5 separate regions of the Homo sapiens genome follow, and all the other regions are linked to region 1. The links are contacts of gene promoters, found by promoter capture Hi-C in human tissues and cell types (Jung and others, 2019). All regions are on one chromosome and are shown on one strand. The core of a region is centred on a gene start or on the middle of the fragment in contact, and the rest is flanking DNA. Distances in the headings are between cores, read along the strand shown. Region 1 holds the start of ACVR1C (activin A receptor type 1C). Region 2 has its middle 4.4 kb from the start of CYTIP. Region 3 overlaps ACVR1 (activin A receptor type 1). Region 4 overlaps LOC105373712 (a long non-coding RNA gene). Region 5 overlaps ACVR1 (activin A receptor type 1).

Region 1 (2,792 bases), core at 189-2,688:
CCAGACAAAATATAATGTGTCCTAGCAGTTTCTTGCCTTTTTAAAAAAGCATCTGTTTTGTGGGTGTCTGAAAGGGCTCAGATTTGTCCCACATCTCCAGTTTTTTGTTTGTTTGGATCCAGGATAAAACAAGAACAAAGTTTTTTTGTGCTTAGGAATATAAGATGGTGGCAGAAAAGATCCTCAGGATGCCACCCACATCTCAAAGTCCAACAACCATCTCATCTCCCATACTGTGATCCTTTGATAATAAAGTCAATTACATACAACATTTCACCATAGGTCTTTCATAGAACTTAGAACACCTAGCATATAATTTAGTCCTGAGCTAGGTGAAGAAGCAAGAAATGTTTTACTCTAAAGCAATTTTTATGACGCTATCACTTTTCAAGGAACCCCCAACAGTAGTAATAACACCAGTATTGTATTCTTGCTTTTTCGCGTTGTTCAGATTGAAATAATCCCATTCACTTTAATGTTCAGGCTCCATAGGTGAATTGAATTTAATTTCTATAAATTGGTAATGTTGCCGTTGTCCTTATATTTTCAGGCACAATCCAGGCCTTATATTTTCAGGCACCCGTTTGACAGTTAGCCTCTAGGGATTAAACAATACTCAAACAAGTTTTTCATATACTACTTTAAACAATTCTTCCCCTTCCCTTAATCCGTGTGTGTGTGTGTGTGTGTGTGTGTGTGTGTGTGTGTGTGTGTATGTTCCCTTAGTTCTTCAATTGCTGAAGTTGTAGCTGCCGAAATTATCTTCCATAGGTGAGGTCTTTTACCACCAGACGTGGGTCACACATTGTAGATGGCCACATCACCTGGCGCAGGTGGTCCAGCTTTGGTCGCCATTCATAGAGGGAAGGGTTCCCAAAAGGCACCCAAGAAGAGATGAAGTTTGTTAAACCAAAGCTTATAGGTCCAGAAGGCAGTCGGACAACTGGTCATTTCCAGGGATGAACAGAGAGGGCGCCCTTCCCCAGAGGCACAAATGGCCAGGACGCAGGGGTGGGACAAGCCAGTAGGAAGCCCGCGGGGCTCTCACAGCGCAACCTGGTTGGACTTAAGGACCCTGGACAACAAACGTCAGGAGAGCTAGGAGGCTGGCTCTTCTGCGGGAGGTTATAGAGCGGATCACCTGGGCGCAATCGCCGCGTAGTTGAAGTTTCCCTAAAGTCTCAGTGGGGCTTTTCCTCCCGTGAGAAGCCCCATTCCTGAGTATCTAGTCCCGGAGGCTCCGCACTGCTTCCCCACGCCCCCTCTTTCTTCGCCCCAGCTCTGGGCGATCTCACTGCCGGGCACAGGGCCGCCTTTGCCTGCCTGCCCTGCAGCAGCAGGCCCGGGCGGCTGCGAGAGGGCGCAGGGGGCGGAGGCGCGGCAGGGGCGGGCTCTGCCGCCCGCCCCACCACCCGCTCCCCGCCCGGCTGCGGGGCCAGTGGCAGGAGCGCCGCGCACCGCCAGCCGCAGGGGGCGTGGGATGGGGGCGGCCGGGGAGGGGGGCGCCCACACTGACTAGAGCCAACCGCGCACTTCAAAAGGGTGTCGGTGCCGCGCTCCCCTCCCGCGGCCCGGGAACTTCAAAGCGGGCCGTGCTGCCCCGGCTGCCTCGCTCTGCTCTGGGGCCTCGCAGCCCCGGCGCGGCCGCCTGGTGGCGATGACCCGGGCGCTCTGCTCAGCGCTCCGCCAGGCTCTCCTGCTGCTCGCAGCGGCCGCCGAGCTCTCGCCAGGTACGGTGCTGGTTTCTCTCCCGACGCCCGCGAGGGTGGGAGCTGGGAGGAGGTCTGCGGGTGAGCACGGGGGTGGGGGACAGGGGGTGCTCCGAGCAAACTGACCTTCGGGGCGGACAGGGAAGCGCCAGTCGGATTGAGGGGGCGCGGGATAGGGTGCAGCGTGGGCACCTGACGTCTGGCAGCCGTAGGGGTAGACAGGTGTGTTGGGGACGAAGCCGCCCGGAAGAGGGAAAAGGCAGCAGGGACGTGGGGGAATAAGTAGTAGGGGTGAGGTGGGTGACTAATTTGTGGGCAGTTTGCAGCGGAGAAAATAGGAGAGCGTTTGTGGGTGCGCGCATGGCTGGGAGCTGGGTTCACCCTGCAGGGACCTGGAGGGCTGCAGGTATGCGTCGGACGCGCTCTGTGCTAAGCCCCTGAGAGCTGCTCAAGGATGGTGGCATGGTGGTGGTGGGAGGTGGTGATTTAGTCTGAGTTTTAGGAGGCGGGGAATACCCCAAAAGCCGCAGATGCCAAGCTATGGAGGCGAGAGTGGGAGCTTAAATCTGTGTGGTTTGCAACGCACATTGCTTTCGAGGTACGATCTTTACTCAGAGTTCCTGGGGAAAAAAATTCTGGCAAGCGCCCCAGAGTTTATAACAGGTCTGTGCCTTGATAGGCTAAATAGAGCCCTCTACCCAATCTAGAAGCCAGACGTTTCTTTATAATGTTTACTAGAAAGTGGGGCAAATGCATCTTTGGTAAAATCATAATATGCTGTGACTAAAAGCCCTTTACCTCGAAAACTATTTTCATTACATTGTCCTGGATTATGCAGAGGAGGAGCAGATTCTTTGCTAACTCATTCTTTAAAAATTTCTATCAGACATTGAAGACATTTGCACATAAAAATCTGGTGTTTTCCCATAGAGCTGTGTTTTGTCCGAAGCTGATTTTGATGCATTTTGTTTTCCCAGATGACAATCTGTTTGACATTAATAGCTATATTCATGGTGGGTCGTTTTCCTCTTAGTGACATGTGCAAGAGAATGATTTGAATGATATGATTGCTGTCATGTACAG
Region 2 (2,792 bases), core at 111-2,610, 180 kb after region 1:
TGAATACAATTCATTTATTTCATGGTTGTTATGGCAGCAAGATAAAGATATATATGCATCAGGTTAAAAATAAAACTAAATGAAAATTATCTATCCATCTCTCTATATAGACAGGTGGTCTATATGCCTCTATATCTTGATCTTGACGTTTATATTTGATTGGACATATTCTTAAATATTTTATTAATCAAGTAACTTTAAAATAAAAATAGCTACTTTTTAAAAAATACAATAGTCCTCAAAGAAGGAAAATACTCCGGGTAATAAGTGGTCAACCAATTATATATTTCTCTTAAAGCTTTAATCTTTCTTGGAAAGACATCTTCATATTATAGAACAATTCCCTTAGTACAAAAATGTTGTTCATTCCGGTTGAGTTAAACCCTCTCTACCTTTGTCTTAATAGGTTAATGAACAAAAGTTTGTTTTGAATGAATTTTAAACAAATCCAGAATTAGGGTTCCTTTAACTATTGGTTATCCTGGTTACTTTGTGTTTCTTTTTAAAGGGATTTTTGCTGTTAGGGCTTTATCTCTCCAAAAAGGTGATAGTCTGTAGAAATTGGGGAACTCATTAGAGGGCTGACGCTTTTTTTTTTTTTTACAGAGTGATTCAATAGTCTACTGTTCTTCACACTCTATGTGAAGAGTCTTTTCTGTTTTCTATAAGCCTGTATTTTCATTCAGTTTTATTTTTAACCCGATTAAATTATGTGGTATGAATGGGAACACAATATAAAGCAAAGCAATTACAACTACAATGGTTGATGTCAGGGCTGAAAGTCTCAGAATCCCCCCTCTCATACCTTTCTCTTTTTCTTCTTCTTCCCTTATTTCCCAGGACATTCAAAGGATCTCCTTACATTTTCATGAGTACAGTTTTAAAATCATTGCATAGACTACCTCTTAAGACTCAAACAACCCGCATTCACAGAGCATTTTGTATAGATATATGGATAAGTCCACAGGAGAAGCTGCCTTTTAAAACCTATGCACATCCTGACTGCTTCCAGGTGGCCCCAATACTACTGTGTACCTTCAGCATGGACCCTTCAACATGAAGCCATCTCTGCCATATGCCCAACATGCTCAAAGTACTCCCCCTAAACCTGAAATAGATAAAGTTGCAAAAGGAATATTTAAAAGTGCAGTTAATGATGTTTCTAGGTGATAAGTGCACCAAATGAATGTGTCTACTTTTATATCTAAAAGAGTGTTGAAATTATCTTACTGAGTTATTTCATGAAACACTGATCTAGATAATCTATTTAAAGCCCCAATTGAATTTAGTGGCTTAATCCCTTGAATGATATTGCAATCTACCCATAGCTTCATGATTTGATTGAATTAAACTTGAATAAATCAGAAAATTGTTTCCTTGCACTTGTATTAAAAACATAGTAGATTTGATGTATTGCTAGCTATTATTTATATTAGGTTTAAAGTTTTTCTTTGTGTTGTTTTAAATATGCATGTCACAACTCTAAGCCAATATTTGGCTTATATCACACTAGGATTTCTAATATAGGGTCTTTATGACCTTTGTTTCTGTTATTTTCCTTTCCTGAGCTGCCTATTTTTCAGGGCTTGTCCTAGTTACAAATTTTTAGTTTATCCTTTTCTGAAGAAGGCTATTACTCTCTGGGGAGTAGTGTTCATAATTCCAGTGATCCACACTGAGTTGGATGAGGACATCTGTCTACCCAGCTCCATCACTCAAATAAGGTGATACATAGGACAGAGCAGTTTTCACAGTTAGTGGATCCTCATATATGAGAGTAACTTTACTAAATCAAATTTACCTTATATAAATTCAAAGGCACAATATTCAAATATTGTCTATATGACTTTAACACATCTCCTACATCATTCCAGAGACCCAAATAAAAACTTCCCTTCCAAATGAAGGCAAAAGGCCAAAATAAAACAAATTAGCAAACCAAACCACAACAAAACAAAATCCTGTGATGTTCCAGGAAGCCAGATAAAATCTTCTTGTGCAAATAAAGGCAAATAGCAAAAATAAAACAAACAAAAAACTCAACAGCTATCTTAAGATCAGAAAGGCATAGAGGAAGTCTCATTTTTTAAGCAACCAGTTACTCTTCTTCTGTGTCTTACAATAATCCAGAAATTTCACACATTGGCTCTGATGATGGTTTTCAAACACATCTTGATATTCGATGGTAAGGAATTCACATGTATTGTGTAGCCTTTAGACTTCTTCAGGGTGACAAGGGCATCCTTGCTGCACATAGAGGCACTTAGTAATGAATAGGGCTATTCATATAGAATTCATGTTATATCCTTTTTTAGCTTTTCCTTTTGAAGGCTTGTTACTTAAAGCAAAATTCAGTAGATATAGCTTACTTTATACCATGTGCTATTCATGGGCTATTCTGTCTATTTTTTCCTGCAAATTTTTGTTTTAGATATGTGAACACTAAAGTTTAGAGAGTGTATTAGTCAGTTCAAGCCACCATAACCAATACCATAGCATAACAAATACCATAGACTGGGTGGCTTTAAACAATAGAAATTTATTTTCTCACAGTTTTAGATGCTGGGAAGTCCAAGATTGAGGTGCTGGCAGATTCAGTTCCTGGTGAGGGATCTCTTCCTGGCTTGCAGGAGGCTGCCTTCTTGCTGTGTCCTCATATGGTGGAGAGAGAGTCCTCTGCCACCTCTTCCTATGAGGGCACTAATCTTATCAGATCTGAGCCTTACCCTTATGACTTCGTTTAACCTTAAATGATTCATTAACCTCCTTATAGGCCCTATCTCTAAATACAG
Region 3 (2,792 bases), core at 154-2,653, 160 kb before region 1:
TTGAGAGTTGAGCCCTGCAGGCATGGCAGAGCCTTATGCTAAGGTGTTTGTCTTCTATCCTGAAGGCAATGGAGAACTGTGGAGAGATTAAGTAGGTGCAGTTTGTGTTTTGAAAGAGTGGTGTGTGGTGAAAGTGGATCATAGAGTGTGGCAAGATGAGAAGTAAAGGGATGGGAAAAACTAATCCTCCTGCAGTTTAGGGACAGGCAGGCACACATACTCCATTTTCAAAGGCATCCCAACTGTAGCAACTAAATGGTGGCAAACAAAACAAAAACAAAGCCTTAGTGCGAACGTAGAACTGTTACAGGTGGCTCACAAATGATATTAACAGTGACAAAACAACAATAATCTAATAATAATGCTATTGCTAGTTTTATTATGAAAGCAGAAGCCAGAGCTGCTGACTTTTCTAACAACTTTTGCAGGACATTTAAATCCCTCTAGCTGGCCCTTTGTTCCTGTGTTGCCATGGAGTGTCAATAAGCCCAGCTCAGAATAACCCAGGCAGTGAAATGAGAGGTACAGCTTGCTCACTGGCATGTTGGCTGGCCAGGTTACACTGTTTTCATTGCTCCCATCTTGGGAGGAGCACTGGGCAGCTGGTTGCCCTGGCAGCTGTGAAGGTGTATGTCTCTTGGCTGCCCAGAGTTCGAAACGGAACCAAAACTTGCCTGCCTACTGAGCATGTGCAGCTCCTGACTGAGCTGACAGCAACTGAAAAAAGCCCACTGAGCACCTGTCCCTTGTACACCAGCCCCTGGCCGACTGCCATTTAGGACAATGTGGACTTACTTAGTAGACAGGTGAGGTGCTGAGCAGATTTTAATGGTCTGAGGAAGATCTTGGGAACTTTGGCCCTACTTAAAAGGAAGAAAAAAAAAGCAGCAGGCTTCTGAGCAGTTCCATTTGGTGCTTCTGTGGTTAGTGGGTGGCCACACTGGCTACGTATGTACAGTATGTGCCTGAAGACTTCATATTGTTCTCCTTACAGCAGTTCAGTAAACTAAGTAAGTTTTCTCTTTGAGAGAAAGGCTTTCCTAAAAGTCTCCTAGTGGTAGCCATCCATGGTTTATACAGCCTCAGCTTTAGAAAGTTTTGGAGTTAAACTATTTTGTTTCATTTTATACCTGCTCTTTAATCCCTAGTGATTGTTAGTCATTTCTACAAGGTGTCTCTTTGCTAGATTATTATTTCTCAGTAGTCCAAATATTGGCACAAGTACAATCACAGAATAGAATCCCAGCATGTCAGGAGCTGTCTGTTCCCTTTTGGGATTTCTTCCATTTCCTTCTGGACTTTAATCTCCTCAGTAAGCTTGCCATTGTTGGACAGACTTGGTGGCCAGTGTGGATGGAAGCAGGCTCTGGAAGGAAATGCTTCTGAAATGACTGGTGGCATTAAAGCTACTATTTAAAAGTGACCCTTTGTAGATACTTGGGTTATCTTTAGGCTGTCAGTGATCTGCAGCTACAGGAGCCAGAGGGAATCTGCGGAAACTCTTGTTTGTTGCTCTCGCCTGGATTTGTGTTTAGATATTCTTGCTCCCCAGCCAGTGGCCTCGTGACACATCTCAGATTTAGCTGGCTTTCTTCTGCCAAAGTCCAAGATTATTGTGGAAACTGGGAATGGTTTGCCATGGCACAGATTGAAGGGGAGGGATTGTGTGTTTGAAAAGCCAGTTCAGCTTCACAGCACTCAAATGAGATGCTTTCTGTTTCTACCTGGAGTGTAGGCACCTGGAGCCTTTCTGTGGGCCCAGGGGTAAAAAAGGACAAGCTCAAAATGACTCAAATTTAACTGTCTCATTGTGACTGTAAGATCTTTATTCTGTGACTGATAAGCCAATCTTGTTCAATATGTTAAACCTGAGAATTAATGAATTGTTTTGGACTATATTAATTAGACTGATAGGGGAAAGAAGATATGTAAAGCAAAGATCAAGTTATAAAGGCTGGGATACAGAGGCACAGGCACATCTTCCTGGGGTTGAAGACATGGGATTCCTTTCTTCATTAACCTTTCATGGAGTTCTGGACTTGGTAGGGCCTTGGGAAATGAATGGGGAAATTGGAGGATAGGGAAGTAGCATTATCAGAGGCTTGGACTCTGCCCCAAGTTTTTACCCTTTTGACTGTTATTTTAAAATCGCTTTGGCTTCATCTAGGATGGAAAGTAAATACAGTAACCCCCTATTTATCCATGGGGAATACATTCCAAGACCCCCGGTGGATGCCTGAAACCACAGATAGTATTGAACCTTATCTATACTACATCTTTTCCTATGTCTAGGATAAAGTTTAATTTATAAATTAGGCACAGGAAGAGATTAACAACAATAGCAAAGTAAAATAGAACAATTATAACAATAGGCTGGCATCACCACTCTTGTGCTTTGGGGCAGTTATTAAGTAAAGGAAGGGTTCCTTGAACGCACCTGCAATACCATGGCAGTGGATCTGGTAACCAAGACATCTGCTCAGTGACTAGCAGGATGGTAGCATCTACAGTGTGGGTACGCTGGACAAATGGATGATTCATGTCCTGGGCAGGATGGAGCTGGACAACGTGAGATTCCATCATGCTACTCAAACAGCATATAACTTAGAACTTAGGAAATGTTCATTTCTGGAATTTTTTGCTTAATATTTTTGGACTGTGGTTGATGGTAGGTAACCGAAATAGTGGAAAGTGAAACGGTGCATAAGGGGGGATAAGTGGGGACTACTGTAGTCTGGAAGTTACTTTGTTCACTCTGTGCTTTTCTGTGGGGCAGGATAGGTTGTGGAGCT
Region 4 (2,792 bases), core at 98-2,597, 150 kb after region 1:
TTTAAAAATGAGAACATGCAGTTTTTGGTTTTCTGTTCCTGCATTAGTTTGCTAAGGATAATAGCCTCTAGCTCCATTCATGTTCCCACGAAAGACGTGATCTTATTCTTTTTTCATGGTTGCACAGTATTCCATGGTGTATATGGACCACATTGCCTTTATCTAGTCTGTCATTGATGTCGTTTGATGGGCGTTTAGCCTGATTCCGTGTCTTTGCTATCATTAATAGTGCTGCAATGAACATTCGCATACATATGTCTTTATGGTAGAATGATTTATAGTCATCTGAGTATATACCTAGTAATGGGATTGCCGGGTGGAATGGTGGTTCTGCTTTTAGCTCTTTGAGGAATTGCCATACTGCTTTCCACAATGGTTGAACTAATTTACACTCCCACCAACAGTGTATTAGTGTTCTCTTTTCTCTGCAAACTGGCCAGCATCTGTTATTTTTTTGAATTTTTAACAACAGCCATTCTGACTGGTGCGAGATGGTACCTCATCATGGTTTTGATTTGCATTTTTCCAGTGATCAGTGATATTAAGCTTTTTTTCATATCCTTGTTGGCCACATATATCGCTTCTTTTGAGAAGTGTCTGTTCATATCCTTTGCCTACTTTTCAATGGGGTTTAAACCACTATTTTTTAATGTAAGGATTTATACTAATAGTTATATGGACAAAGATTTATGTTCAAATTTGATCACATTATTATTTCTAACAGTGAACTATCAGAAATAACAATATTTAATAAAATTAGATTACTATCAAACTAGAAAATTATGGTTCTGCTATAGTATGGACTGTCATATCACTATTAAAATCATGTTGTGATTAGTTATTAGTGATAAAAGAAAATTATAGCGGGTAGTGTTAGTGTTTAAGTGTAACAAGATAGTGTTTTAAGATACACTATTTAAGTGTAATAAGAGAATATACATAGTTATTTATGCATAATTATCTCATCTGGTTAAAATCAATAATAAAAAAGGACTAGGGAGGTTAAGACAAATGTTCATGATGATTTTTGGTGGTAGTGGGATCCTCTCTACTTTACAAATTATCTGCAACAGAGAGATAATCATGGGAAAAATGTATTTAAATAAGGAAAAGAAACAAATACAAAAGGAAATACCGAGACAAATAAAAAAGGGCAGATCATTAGAAATGGTGAGAGGCTCACGGATATGACTACAAATCTGAAGTGAAGGCAGAGTTGGAATGGAGTTTAGAGCAAATAGAAATACTGGAGTAATTCGTGCTCATGGCCAGCTCCTTCAAAGCACTGAAGTGTATAGAACGGCTGCAAGGAAAGACCTGAGCTTCTCTGTCTTGTGATGAAAGTGAGTTTTGTTTTTCTAAAACAAACCAGTTCTCTGCCCAAATTTACATTTTTATAGATGCCACATATATTTTCAACCTCTAAAATATTTTGGTTAAGATGTTTTCAAAATAATAAATCTTCAAAATCAGTCTCTATTTTCTCTTTATTTTGTTTAAGTCCATGACCTTTCAATTTATGCAATATTTTAATTTTGGGGGAGGGGGGCAGCAAAAGTAGATGTAATTTGTCTATTAGCTATTACTTTGATTTTTATAGTCTAAATATGTGGAAGTTTCCAACTTTCTTATCTTTATTGCAGTTAGACTTTCTAAAATGCCTTAGAGGAGTTTGAAGGTCTCATTATTTTCTTCAAACACTTTATTTCCCAGGAAGGTAGATATTTGTATCTCTTGCCTGTAGAATCTGCTCTATGGTTAGGAGAATTTATGTCCCTATTTTTTAGTTCTCACTTGGATTTCTTGATACTGAAAAAAGCCTCCTGAACTCAGGCCTTTACATACTTGTCCTCAGCATAATGGATGCCTGGTCCACACACTCATGTTCATTTCTTCAGTTTCTCCCTCCCTCTTCAAATTACCCTGGGGCCTTGATCGTGTCTTCTCTTGCTATAGCCTGTCTACCACTACCTAATCTCATATTCCAGCAGTAAGTGATCACTTATGTAGGCTGAGAGGAAAAAAATGTTGTTTTCCTGAATTTCTTTTTAGGAAATAGCAGTATATTTTTGTTAAAACATAAACATAATTGCTTATGCCCAATAAACTTTTACAGAAATAAAATATACTTAAAACTGTGTTTTCCATTGAATTGTCACTACAACATTTCTTTCCTCTAGAACATTTCTTTGCATTTAGTCTTAGTAAGATTGCATTGGGTTCTCCATCAGCCCAAGGTATGAGATGCTGGTTGTTGGATCTGCAAAGCATGACTGAGTCCCAGGGCATTAATCATCATGGCATATGCATTATTTTGCTGCTGTGCTCTGCTGAGCCAAGGAGATGATGCATATGTATTCACACTCCTCCACTCTCACTTTCTTCTTCCATCTATACTTTCTCTCTGAAGGCAGTTTTGGCTGCCACCAAGTACTGTACCCCAAATGCCACATTTTCAAATGCAAATGCCTGTTTACAGGAACATCTTGTCCCTTGGGCCAGTTCATCTCTCTGTGGTACATACCTACCGGTAGTATAGCTATAACTTTGGCTGCTGCTTTGTAAGTATAAAGTCACAACCAGAATTGTAACATGCAAATTTAAAACTGGAATGTCTACAAGTAGGCTCAAATACCTTTGGAGTCACTAAGTTTGTTTAGAGGCATGGAGCTATATTAGCCTGGGACTTGACTTCATGTCCCATAAACCCCTCTGTTCCCTCTTGGAATCTGTTGCCATTAACCTGTGATGTATGTACTCTGCCACCATTACCTCTAGCTCTAGCACTCATC
Region 5 (2,792 bases), core at 162-2,661, 140 kb before region 1:
AATGATAGTGTAACTATAACCATACTGCTTGAAAAAGATTTTGCACACATTGCTTCTTTCTTTTGAGTTCTCAGAAAAAATTCCCAGGAACTGGGGGTTCCTGGGTCAAAATTTGTAAATGTTTTTTACAGCTTGTTTTATATGCTGCTGATTGGCTCTCTTGGAAGATGGTACAAAGTGCCTATTTCCTGATTTTTGTTAGCTTTACTTTTATGTGGTAGGTATTTGCAAGTTCCATAATCATTTTCCTAAGTTTCTCTTTTAGACGGCTTGCAGGGATGGCTGCAGTAGCAATAATGGGTTGGCAACCTCTCCACACCCTCCTCCTAGTGCTCATGGTTTCCGAGGGCTGGATTTTGCAGCTCCTGCCGTTGCATCTTTTGCTTTTGGGAGGTGACCTATAAGCTGCCCCCACCACTTGGCTGCTGTTCTCCAGATTTTCTTCTTGTTTTCATGGAAAGAGGGACACCCCCAGTCTGAGTAGTAGAAACGGGGAAGGGCAGAGGTAGGAAGAGCAGTGGCTGCTGCCCCAAGGCACAGGAGTAACCAGCGGGAGCTTGGTTGTCCTTTCTCTAGGTCTACGGCTATTGTCACTGTTTGCTGCTTCTCGCTTCTCCTCCACGGCAGATTGTGAATGGAGAAAATAAAGATGGAAAAGCCCCAAATGTGCTCATTAATTTCAACCAGAGTTGTCCTCTTGTACTAACTAGTATCTTATTTGATTATGAACAAGATTATCTGGATAGTGGTGGGAAGACATTGAAGGGGTACATTTCCCTGTCTCATCTCCCCTCTCCACTACTATTCCATGCAAGCTATCTCAAGATTAGTCTTCAGAGATTGGCTCCAGAGTCCAAATGGCAAAATAGTAATGCACCTTTAAAGTATGTAGTTTCTGGTTCTATAGATATTCCTCAGCATTCTTTTGAAACAGTATAAATATCATTATTGCATTTTCTTGGGTTAGGACTAAAGACTTTAATAAAAGCAGTGCCTTTCATTAGCTTGTAGTTAGTGTGTTCATGTGGTACAGCTTTTAGTAAAAATATATGTGATGAACTGCATGGATGGTATGTTATTTTTGGTTCAAAAACATGGGAAGTTGGGTTAGGGGAGTCATTTCTGGATGACGATCAGTGAAACTACAAATTTCAGGTGCCTTAAGGGAGCCTTTTTGTGGGGCTCCATGGCCAGGGCTTTTGGGCAGCTCTGCTTTTGTTTTAGGGGCTTCTGCATAATGATGAATTTGCAAAAAGCATTTAACAACTTAAAAGCATTTGAAAACCATTGAACAATATTTCTATTTTAATTTACCTACCTCGACATTCATCTTCTGTTTTCTTTAAAACAACAACCAAAAAAAGGATTTGAGGTAATTTTGTATCCATAATTCCCTGGGATATTTTGCTCTCATCCCTAATGACAAAATGAGGACAAAGGGAAAATAAAGATACAAAACAGAACCAAAGGCAGGAAAAGATTAGCATACCATTTTCTGGCAGCCAGTATTTGTAGTATCTTAGCACTAGGCCTCATCTTGAGCTATAAATGCTGGCAAATTGCTATGGCTTTATTAAAAGGAATCGTGTACTAAATTATATTTGTGTGACCCAACAGTGGCCCACAATGAGCACTTGTTAGCCACATTGAACATCCTTTTGGGTTAGTTGTTGGTATTTAATAGGGACATGATATTCTTGTCAGGTAATCTAGATTTAGTGGTTGTGATTATGATTCAGGTGTGTCTCCTGGACAGAACTGCTTCTCTCTCCATGTTTGGGTTTTCAGTGACTTAGTGTTCCAGCAAAGAACTGTATTCCTGTATATGCAGGTGGTGCTGCAGCTGCTTATTAGAAGCTGTGTGATTCCAGCAGTCACTTGCCTGGGTAGAAAGCCCCACTGCCCTGCAAGTTATATCTCTTGCCTTGTTATCTAGGCTGATTATACCCCTTGTTGATCCTCATAGTCTTGTGGTAATTACCTCCTCCTCCAACCTCCCTGATCACCCCTACCTATAATTAAAGAGAAGAATGGAAGAGGGAGCATGTAGTTGACAAGCTGACAAGTGTGTTGCTGCTGCAAGAGGGGGCCATGCACCAAACAGATTAGATCACAAGTAGAGTTGCCACGTTTTCCAAAATGTATTCTCCAAGTAGCCTTTTCAGTGTAGCCCACTTGTAGCATCACAGGAGCTGTCTGACAAACAAATACCCATGACCAGTATCAGAAGAAGTCAGAACTCTTCTGGGATTATGTATTTAAGACTTTGCAAATCCTCTTTTTGAAATACATCTTCCGCCAAGAAATCTTTATGGATGCAGTGGCTGCATGTCGATCTTCTAGCAGCATTGTGTTTTGGTTTGTTTTTGTTTTTTAATCCTTAGAACACACATTTTAAACTTAATTGTTCTCCTTTGTGGAAAAAATGCATATCTAAATTCACCAATTTGGACAGTGCCTATGTTGATCCTGTGTGAAGGGAAGGAACCAAGGAAGGAATTCAGTTTACTGATGTACACTTTTTTGGCTTTCAGAACACAATTGAAATTTAATAATCTGTACCATTTCCTAAGTTTTACTTTCATGTGTTTTAAAAGTCATATGCATTTTATACCTTTCAACAGAGGAATTTAAATGTAAACTGAGTAATTAGCAGCTAATTATACAATGCAGATACAGAAGGCAGTTTGTTATCACAATATGGTAGATGAGAGGGGCAGCTTCCACCTTATTTTTGTATGTCTTTATAGGCCAAAAAAAATAAAAAATAAAGGTTGTGATATTTATATTCC

What was found. The method cuts DNA at HindIII sites, captures the fragments that hold promoters and counts their contacts. A contact is called where the count stands out against the background at its distance.
Region 2: a contact is called between a fragment that was not itself captured here and the fragment with the promoter of ACVR1C in region 1, in 1 of the 25 tissues and cell types used here (spleen).
Region 3: a contact is called between a fragment that was not itself captured here and the fragment with the promoter of ACVR1C in region 1, in 1 of the 25 tissues and cell types used here (mesenchymal stem cells).
Region 4: a fragment that was not itself captured here is called in contact with the fragment with the promoter of ACVR1C in region 1 in 1 of the 25 tissues and cell types used here (spleen).
Region 5: a fragment that was not itself captured here is called in contact with the fragment with the promoter of ACVR1C in region 1 in 1 of the 25 tissues and cell types used here (spleen).

What each region holds. Positions count from the first base shown.
Region 1 is chr2:157,627,510-157,630,301 of GRCh38, reverse strand. It overlaps ACVR1C (activin A receptor type 1C), which reads left to right and starts at 1,438. Exons shown (of 9, transcript NM_145259.3): 1 at 1,438-1,730. The coding sequence starts at 1,658. RefSeq lists a silencer at 1,494-1,723. The HindIII fragment of the contact is 14,203 bases long and covers 148-2,792 here.
Region 2 is chr2:157,447,133-157,449,924 of GRCh38, reverse strand. No RefSeq gene overlaps it. Among named protein-coding and RNA genes, the nearest start is that of CYTIP, 4.4 kb to the right of the region's middle. The HindIII fragment of the contact is 3,303 bases long and covers 1-2,792 here.
Region 3 is chr2:157,788,146-157,790,937 of GRCh38, reverse strand. All of the region lies in intron 3 of ACVR1 (activin A receptor type 1), which reads left to right. Among named protein-coding and RNA genes, the nearest start is that of ACVR1, 87 kb to the left of the region's middle. The HindIII fragment of the contact is 5,724 bases long and covers 1-2,792 here.
Region 4 is chr2:157,473,303-157,476,094 of GRCh38, reverse strand. The region is part of intron 3 of LOC105373712 (a long non-coding RNA gene); the gene reads left to right. Among named protein-coding and RNA genes, the nearest start is that of CYTIP, 31 kb to the right of the region's middle. The HindIII fragment of the contact is 5,596 bases long and covers 1-2,792 here.
Region 5 is chr2:157,770,646-157,773,437 of GRCh38, reverse strand. All of the region lies in intron 6 of ACVR1 (activin A receptor type 1), which reads left to right. Among named protein-coding and RNA genes, the nearest start is that of ACVR1, 100 kb to the left of the region's middle. The HindIII fragment of the contact is 5,036 bases long and covers 1-2,792 here.